2 separate regions of the Homo sapiens genome follow, and region 2 is linked to region 1. Evidence: promoter capture Hi-C in human tissues and cell types (Jung and others, 2019). All regions are on one chromosome and are shown on one strand. The core of a region is centred on a gene start or on the middle of the fragment in contact, and the rest is flanking DNA. Distances in the headings are between cores, read along the strand shown.

Region 1 (4,710 bases), core at 631-3,130:
GGGCATGGCTGGGAGAAGCAGAGATTCCTTGTTTGTTTGATTTCTATGTCTTAGCCATCCTCCCAGTCCTAGTAGAGAGAGGCAAAGTGTGGTTACAGAGTCCAGGGAAGATGGTTCTGAAGCACCCGGGAACCTGCCTAAAGGGCTGAAGAGTCAGAGTAGCACCATCAGATTGGTACCAGTTTTGCCTGAACGGGGTTTGCAGAGAATTCAGGGCTCCAGCCTGGGGTGCCTGTGACAGCCCAGTGACAAAGCACTCACCTTTCCCACAGACCACAGCGGACCTCTGTAGGTCTTGCTCTTGGACTCAGAAACCTTGATGTGATAGTGACGGATGGATGGTGAGAAAGATGCTGCTGACATAGGGCTCCCCAGAAGCCTCAAGGTGCCGTAGAGTAGCATGCAACTTAGAGATCAGCTGCTAGTGTGGGATTTTAGGACCCCAGCTGGCAGGCATAGGAATGAGCTGGGCAATTTCTATGCGTAAGTAAAGGCAACAACAATCTAACAGGACCTTATGGCACTAGATAGTAAGCCCCATGAAGGCAAGATCTCTGTCTTGTTCTCTGCCATATGGCCAGCACATAGCACAGTGATGGCACTTGGAAGGGGTTCAATATATATGTTGAATGAACAACAAATTTTAGTAACCTTATCTGGAAGCCAGAGTAGGGGTTTAAACTACTTCCTATCCAACACTGCAGCATGCAATTCATGTCTTCATTTAGCAAGTATTTCTTGAGCACCTACTACGTGTAAGGCTCCGTTGCGAGGCATCCGAAGCAATTTGTCAGCATCATTCATGTTGATACTCGGAGTGACCCGTTCAAGAGCACCTCAGCACCACCTGGCTTTTCTGAAGACTGAGGCCCCACCACAAACCCCTGTGGGGCTTCAAGCAGGGGCAGTGAGAGGGCGTTAGACGAATGCTCCAGGTTTAGCCCCTTTCCGGGAACAGGTCTGGGTCCCTTCGCATCTGCCCTGCTGGTCCCAGGATCCCGGGGCCGCCGCTTCCGGGAGCTGCCGGGTCTTGGCAACTCCGCTTTCCTCCGGGGGCCCCCGTGCCTCTCTCAAGCCTCCTTTCCAGCCAACGACCAGCGGCCCCAGTCCGGCTGCAGGTAGCTGGGGAAGGGACCAAGCTGTGCCTTGGGAGCGAGCTTCCCCGGGCGGGGAGAGCGCAGCAGATGCGGAGCGGTCCCAGAACAAAAGGCTCATGGCTGGCACGGGCCTCCTTGGAGTGCGGCGGGGACGTGGGTTCGGGACTCAGGCGAGAGAGCCAGACGCGGGAGGAAAAAAAATGAAGTGAGAAAAGAGAAGGAGGGAGAGCTCAGGGTGAGAGCGGTGAGAAGAGGTGACCCGGAGGCCGAGGTCTGCGGCGGAGCCGCAGCGGCCCTTCCTCCGCCTCCTGCAGCGCCTTCCAGGCAACCAAGCGTGTCTCCGGCTGCAACTCCAGCAAGCGCGCCGCTGCCGCCTCCACGCCCGCCCGCCGGCCGGCCGAGCCAGTAAGTAGCGGCGCGCCCACCGCTCGTTCCCCGCCCCTCCGCGGCTTCCCCGCCACCGCCCACCGCCTCCCGCCGCCCCGCGGGCAAGTCCGCGACCGCCTCCCGCTGCCCCGAGCCGGGTGCCGGGGGCTCAGCGCGCCTTCCCAGCTGGGAGCCTCGGTCCGCTGCTCGCCCTGCTCCCTCTTGCCGGGGCGCGGCGTCTGGGGCGCGCCGCGGGGAGGGTCGCCCTCGCCGCGCGCTGCCCGGGCGCCGCGCCACCCCTACATCCAATGGCTTTCGGGGAGCGGGAAGTGGGGGGCGTCGCCGGGGGCGAGGAGCCGCGGCCGGGGTGGGGCGTGTGCGCTCAGCGCGGCCGAGCGAGGCTGACGTGCCCGCCCAAGCGCGCGCCCGGGAGTGTGTGTGCGGGTGTGTGTGTGCGGGAGTGTGTGCGCACACGCCTTCGGGGGCTGGAGTGACACTGCAGTGGGCTTCTCCGTAGCCCCAGCCTTCAGGCTGCGCAGCCCCTAACCTGCCGGCACCGCTTTTGGGAAGCAGCTTGGCTCTTCCATCTCCCCAAGCCTTCCTCTCCATCCTTTCATCCACCCCTCGCCGATCTTACTTTTTCTTTTACCCACGGGGCCGCGGCCGGCCACCCCCTGGCCGGTGCAAACACCCAAGCCCTCTCCAGTTCTCCCCCAAGCTAATATTTTCCCACCTGTCTTTTTCTGGGGTTCCTCCACGAGCCAGTCCAAGGCTCCCCCATCCTCGGAAATTGTTTTGTTGGACTGCTAAACCGAGGCGTGTAAAGCTTGAGGACTTTATTATTATTTGGGTTCTTTTCATTTCTTCCCCTTCTGGGCAACGAAGCAATGAAATTTCCAATCGAGACGCCAAGAAAACAGGTGAACTGGGATCCTAAAGGTGGGTGTTTCCTACTTTTGGCTGCCCTCGCCCTGCCTCTGTCTCCGGCGTGTGCGCGCTTCCTTGAGTGGAAGCACTCTTGCTTCTGGCAGCGTGTGTCCTGAGGCTGGGAAATGCGCCTGGGAACTGCAGCGCGGGTGGGAGGAGGGCGGAGGCAGCGTGGGTTCCGAACCCAGATAGTGCCTGTCATTACCACATAATCATTGTCCCTCCTAGATTGTCTCCAGATCTATTTAGATAGACCAAGCCGACTGTTTGGTTTGAAATTGCAAGTGTCGGTATTTGCTTTTGACTTTGAGTGTGCGAGTGTGTGTGTGTGTGTGTGTGTGTGTGTGTGTCCTTTGTTTCTGGTGATCTTTGTCTCTCTGGCAGATGGGTGGGGTGCTTCCCCCTGGACCTGGAGCTGCGCCGCATGCCCGGGTGTCCTCAGTGGGAAAGGTTTCCTGGCAGCAAGTGGGGCTCGAGTTGCAGCAGCCGTCCCTAGGGGTGGGCCGTTCTCGCAGGGCATGCAGAATAATGGAGCCCACAGGGCCTCCTGAGTCTTCGTTCAATCTTATTACCAAACCTAGCAGCTAGTTAGGCTCAGGTCAGAGTAGAAGCAGGAGGAGGGGTGGTTTGTGAGAAGGGTGGGGCTGGCAAGGCATAGGGGAGGGGCACGAAGTGTGCCCGCCCAAGCAATGGTGTGGTTTGCATGCTTTTACGAATGTTGGACCAGGTTTCATCCACGCAAAAGGGAGGGATTAAGACGGATTTGTGTGTGCCTAGCGTCGGCCACCGTGTCTGTAATTAGCATACAGATGTTAAGGCTCCAAGGGAGTGATCAGTATGAGAGCAGAACAAGTTGGAACCGCGTGTCCAGTTGTGACAAGAATGCTCTTTAGCATTTCTTGTAGCTCATCTGACGACTGTGTCAGGCTAGGCAACGCCTCTGTGTGTATTGGAATTGAAATTTGTTTATTTGGGGTGCGTGTGTGTTTAATGTTCTTTATGAGCGCATTTCTTCTTTTTCTCCAGACTGGAAAGAAGAAACCATCTTATTTGTTGAGTAAATGTCTTAGGAATTGACTGGCTATTGAAGAGTGAGTGAAGAGATACTGCCTTTTTAAAACACTGAGGCTGTTACATCTTAAATACAGCCCAAACCTTCTATTTTGTCTCTACTTGAAATCTCTGGAAATATGGAGGTGTGCCTTTGCTTTTTTGGGGGGAGAATCCCTGAAAAGCATATTTGTTAAATACCTATTACATGCTAAACACTGTCCTAAGCTCTGGAGATACAGTCAGAACAGGAAAGATAAAAGCTCTGACTTGGAGTTTACAGTGAGGGAGACAGACCTAAATCAATTCCATGGAGGAATGCATAATTCAAAGTTTATGTATGCTCCAGGGAGAGCATCAGAGGTTTAAGAAAGTGTCTGATAGAAGAGATTGACAAGGACCAGAGAAGGCTTCCCTGAGGACATGACACTTGGACTTAGGCCTGGAGGATGTATAGGAGTTAATTGTCTAAGGAGGAGGGGAATTGTTGCAGAAGAGGGAACAGCAAGTGCAAAGGGCCTGAGGCAGAAGAGGTATGTGTATATGATGAACTGAAAGGAGGTTCCCATGGCTATGGCAGAGTGAGTGAAGAGGTATTGCCTTTTTTAAACACCCAGGCTGTTATACTGTAAATACAGCACAAACCTTTCATTTTGTCTCTATTTGAAACCTCTGGAAATACGGAAGTATGCCTTGGCTTTCTTTTGGGAAATCCCTGAAAAATGTATTTATCCCTAGCAGAGAGCAAGAGGGCTTGTGTTTTGAGATATGACTGGGGGATCCACAGGCGAGACGCCCCCCTCCAAGCCCTGTGTTGTTGGAGGTGGGGTAGCATTGTGGGGTTGGAAGAGTATAGTATTTATCTAAAGCCAATGAAGAGTTTCAAGACGAGGAGTGACATGATTTGAGCTAAGTTTCAAAACAAGTGCTGTGTGGCTCTTGTGGATGTAGGGGACCAGATACAATGGTAGCATGGGCCAGGGTGGTTGCTGTGGGCATGGAGAAGCGGACGGAGTAGAGAGCTGTAGAGGACGTGAAATCAACAGGCTTTGCATGAATAATGTGTGGAAGTGAAGTGAAGGAATTGGAATGACTGAGATGGCAGCCAGGGCAGGACCAGTCTTGAAGGAAAGCTCATGAGTTCAATCTAGGACTTGTTGAGTAGGACATGTCCCCAAGCCATCCAAGGGGTGTGTTAGGTGGGCAGCTGTCTAAGTGCTGGGGTCAGGATCTTCAAGGAACAGAGGGAGTACCGTGAGACTGATTTTGT
Region 2 (4,710 bases), core at 1,265-3,764, 71 kb after region 1:
ATAAAGCTTTTACTCCAAGGAAAAGGCTGGAGGGAGAAGGAAACATGATTCAAGAAACTGGGCTGTCTGGCATGGTGCTATAGCACTCCACGTGGGGAATATTGTGTTTTCAAAGAAAGGGTGTGTTAGAAGGGGAATGATCATGGACGTTATATCAGATAGACTTGGTCCCTCAACACCACTAAACCTAAGGCCCCTCCTCATATTAAAGGGATCACAGTCCTCATTAGGATGATTGTGGGGAGTGAGTGAACCTAGCAGAGTGCCTGGCATGTCACTGGCATCAGGAAATGCTATTTCCTTCTCCCACCCGTCTTTCTTCTCTCAAGCGAACCGAGTAGACAAAGATAATTATACCTGGAGTACTTGCATTTCTTTGGCAGTAGAATAAAGTAAATTAAATGTATTTTTGAAGTTGAGGTTTCCATGAACTTGATTTGGCGGTCACTGTGTCCCAAGAAAGCCTTTATCTTTGACGTCCTCACATGCCGCAATTGCTTATCTCCCTGTTCCCAGTGCAATTGTCTTAGAAGCTTCTATACTGACTAGTCTTGGAGAAAGCCATAAAACATTCCTCTTTTGTGATCCTCAAAGAATAAAATCGTGAGGAGCCTTCGCTGACTGACGGGGAAGCGTAGAATGAATGCTTCGGTTTGCAGGGATGATCATTGGCAGCAGTCTTTTTTCAGGTTATGAATTCTGATGTTTCCCAGATGTTTGAAGATTTTGAGTGTCTTCAGGGGAGCTCGAGTGGTCCCATGGCTGCCATTTCTTCTGGTCATAGCCTCGCTGAAGGGAATAGCATTTCACGGGAGTGGGTTTAGGGTTGGATGAGGCACCCATCGGGAAGGACATGGGATTTTTCATTCTAAGTGCCTTGCCATAAAGCAAACGACAGGGGTCTATTCCTCTCTCTCTGGAGAATGTTTCTGGGGGCAGGTTGGTCTAATCCCCTCAGAGTGAGCAGGTTATCTCACTCCCTGGTAGGCTGCCTTCTTCCTTGGCTCACTTCAGTCCTTGCCTCCAGCAAGAGGGGTCTCTCCAATGCAAAATGGTCACTGTCTGTTCATGATAGTTTTTCTGTCTGAAGAAAGTCCCGGGGCCTTCATCTGCATGGCTGGGGCTAGGTCTGGAACTGCCTGGAGCATGAGCCTTTTGGGGGGTCTCTTCCCACCTGCTTTGTCTCTCTCTCTCTCTCCCCCTCACCCTGACTGGTCCAGTGACTCTTTATGTTGGTGAACAGAAACTTTACCATTGGTTTTCACTTTATGACGTCTATGGGCTTCCCCTCTCTGCCCCCAAGATGGCGTCTCACTCTGTTGCCCAGACTGGAGTGCAATGGTGAGATCTTAGCTCACTGCAACCTCTGCCTCCTGGATTCAAGTGATTCTCCTGCCTCAGCCTCCCAAGTAGCAGGGATTACAGGCTACTTCACCACCCCAGCTAATTTTTGTATTTTTAGTAGAGACAGGGTGTTGCCAGGTTGGCCAGACTGGTCTCAAACTCCTGACCTCAGGTGATCTGCCCACCTCAGCCTCCCGAAGTTTTGGGATTACAGGTGTGAGCCACTGTGCCGGCTAAGGATTTTTTTTTTAATCCTTTCCAAATAGAGTTTCAGATACTTTGCTCAGTACTGTGTTTGATGAGTATTATTTGGCAAGATTTATTATTTTTTCATTAAAAAATTAAAAATGACCTATAATAATTGTATGTATTTATGAGGTACCTCGTGATGTTTCCATACCTACAATGTATGATGATCAGATCCGGGAAATTAGCATATTCATCATCTCAAACATTTATCATTTCTTTGTGTTGGGAACGTTCAATATCCTCCTTTTAGCTATTTGAAACTATATACTAGATTATTGTTAACTGTAGTCCATCCTGCAGTGGTATAGAACACTAGAATTTATTCCTGTTATCTTGCTGTAATTATGTCCTGTTTAACAAATCCTTCCCTATCCTCTGCTCCCCTGACTCTTTCCAGTCAGCATTATTTATTAGGCACTGATTCTGTGCTGGCTGGGTGCTAGAGAGTTTACATATATTACTTAGCTTCATTTGCCTCTCTCCATTGCACCAAGAGGCGGCCACTGTTGCTGCCCCATTTTACAGAGGGTAAAGTTCTTGCATCTAGCTAGTGACCAAAGCAGGACTTGAGTCTAGCTAGATCTCTCTGACTCCAGAGGCCACGCTCTCTTAATCGTACTCTCCTTGGCTTGACACGGTGGGCTTAGAGAGTACATAATTGGATCAAGACAAATTCCTCCTGACGAAGGGAAAACCCACTCAAACAACATGATGAGCAGGCTCCTTTGTGACAGTTAGTGCTTGCCTTCTAACGCAGAGCTCTCTCTCCTGTCCTCTTCCTGTATTTGTAACCTTTCTGACATACAGAGAGCCTGCATGACAAGGCTGGGGTGCCAGATTGTTGGCCTCTGGCTTACTGACTCATTTTATTGGCTGTGCGCATTGGGCCTGACTCTACCATGTTTTAGTGGAGAAAGATTTAGTCTAAGATGTGGGCAGCGGCATGTGAGGAGTGGGTATTGTGCTGTGGTCCTGGGTATGAACCTTTGATGTTGTCATGGCAACCAAAGCTGCTATTCTGCAGATGAGAGGACTAGATATTATGAACTGTCAAACTGTTCTCTCCATAACCAAGGAGATGTTGGTAATCTCCTTGGTAATTTGCATGACCCATAAACATTTCCCAAGGCTGTGGCTCTGCCCTTCTGCCAAGACCCGAGTCACTCACTTGCTCACTCACTTACTCATTTGCTCACTCACTTATTCATTCTTTCATTCAACAAACTTGTTGATTGCCTACTGTGCTAGATGCTGGGATGTAATGGTGAATAAAAGACAGACATGGTCCCTGCCTTCTTGGAGCTTATAACTAGGATGACCAAATGTCCCAGGTTTTGTGGTTCTGGAGTAATTGTTAATAGTGCCCCTTTCTCTCTCAGAAGTGTCCTGGGGCTGGGCGTGGTGGCTCATGTCTATAATCTCAGCACTTTGGGAGGCTGAGGCAGGCGGATCACTTGAGCTCAGGAGTTTGAGACCAGCCTGGGCAACATGGCAAAACCCCATCTATATTAAAAAAAAAGTGTCTTGGTTTGAAATATAAAATATATAGTGACCCTACTTATAGACAGTGGGAGAGCCAAACCTTATGCATGTTATTACACAAATAATTGTAACTAAAAGCCAGATGAAAGTTGCAAAGGAGAGGGAGCTAGAGCTATGGGACACCCAAATAGGAGAACTGATTTAGTAGGACAAAGATTCCAGGCAGAGAGGGCTGAGTCAAGGCCCTGGATGGGAGGAAGCAACATGCCATGGCTGAGGACTTGAGAGAAGTGAGCAAATGTGGCCAAAGGGCATTTAGCAAAGGGAACTTAGAAAGCAATTTGGCTGGAGACAGGCAGGAGCCAAACCACGCAGGTGCTGATTCTGAATTTTATCTTAAGAGCACTGTGAAGCTTACAGTTATGTTTTCAGTAGCAGAGTGATATAATCTGGTCAATCAGTACATTGCCATTTTGGTTCTTCGTATAAACCCAAAGGGTTTTAAGTTATTTGTTCATTAATTCAATAACTAAACATTTATGGAGTGGCAACTGTGGCACTCTGCTAAGTGTTTTGCTCTGGAGTTCTGAACTCAATTGTCCTCAGTGGTGCCAAAACTCAACTCTTGGGGGAAGCCTTTATGGGCCCTTTATGTTGGGTCGTGTCCTGCTTGGCACCATTTGCCCCCCATTTGCTAGACTCTCTTGGATGACCTTTACTTTTCTCTGTCCTCTTTCCATGACTGTGAGCTCTTTGAAGTTGAATCTATGTCTTTTATCAATATATCCCTTCTGCCTGGCACAGTGGCTGGCCAATAGAAAATGCTAAAGGCTTGAGGAATGAAGGAATGGTGCTTTTTGTGTCTGTTCTTTTTTTTTTTTTTTTTTTTTGAGACAGAGTCTTGCTCTGTCTCCCAGGCTGGAGTGCCTTGGCATGATCTCAGCTCACTGCAACCTCCACCTCCTGGGTTCAAGCGATTCTTCTGCCTCGGCCTCCCTAGTAGCTGGGACTACAGGTGTGCACCACCACGCCCAGCTAATTTTTGTATTTTTAGTAGAGACGGGGTTTCATCATATTGGCCAGGCTGGTCTTGAACTCTTGACCTTGTGATCTGCCCACCTCGGCCTCCCAAAGTGCTGGGATTACAGGCATGAGCCACTGTGCCCAGCCTTTGTATCTGTTTGAAGACCAAGAGCCCTTCATTTAGAACTTTCACAGAAGGAAAGCAAAAAATTCTTTTGTTTCTGTTTTACAAGTCTTTTCTTTTTGGTCTGGTTGTCAATAGTACTTCTCTGGATCCGCCTCCTGTATTCAAGTGATTTTTCTGTCTCAGCCTCCTGAGAAGCTGGGACTACAGGGGTGTGCCACCACACCCAGCTAAGACAAAAACTCACCTTGTTGTCTTCTTTATGCATGAGCAGATTCCCTTGGTATCTATAGCCGTCGAAGCTTTACGTATTTCCCTATTTAGGGACATAAGAATTTTTAGGAAAGCAGCGTGTTGGAAAGCACGGCACCTGAGATGTTCATGGAAATCCTTGTTGTGACTTCAGAGTGCAGATCTAGAGCAGCCCTCTGTTTGTCTGCCCTGGGCCATCCCCTATTTCAAGCAGTCTTTAGTCCAGGAAGTTTAGG

Evidence for each region. The method cuts DNA at HindIII sites, captures the fragments that hold promoters and counts their contacts. A contact is called where the count stands out against the background at its distance.
Region 2: a contact is called between a fragment that was not itself captured here and the fragment with the promoter of KCNK10 in region 1, in 3 of the 25 tissues and cell types used here (dorsolateral prefrontal cortex, hippocampus and spleen).

The regions. Positions count from the first base shown.
Region 1 is chr14:88,320,439-88,325,148 of GRCh38, reverse strand. KCNK10 (potassium two pore domain channel subfamily K member 10) reads left to right here and starts at 1,880. Exons shown (of 7, transcript NM_138317.3): 1 at 1,880-2,402. The coding sequence starts at 2,351. RefSeq lists enhancers at 1,243-1,302, 1,875-2,534 and a silencer at 1,353-1,592. The HindIII fragment of the contact is 9,751 bases long and covers 1-3,857 here.
Region 2 is chr14:88,250,488-88,255,197 of GRCh38, reverse strand. All of the region lies in intron 2 of KCNK10 (potassium two pore domain channel subfamily K member 10), which reads left to right. Among named protein-coding and RNA genes, the nearest start is that of KCNK10, 70 kb to the left of the region's middle. The HindIII fragment of the contact is 4,487 bases long and covers 271-4,710 here.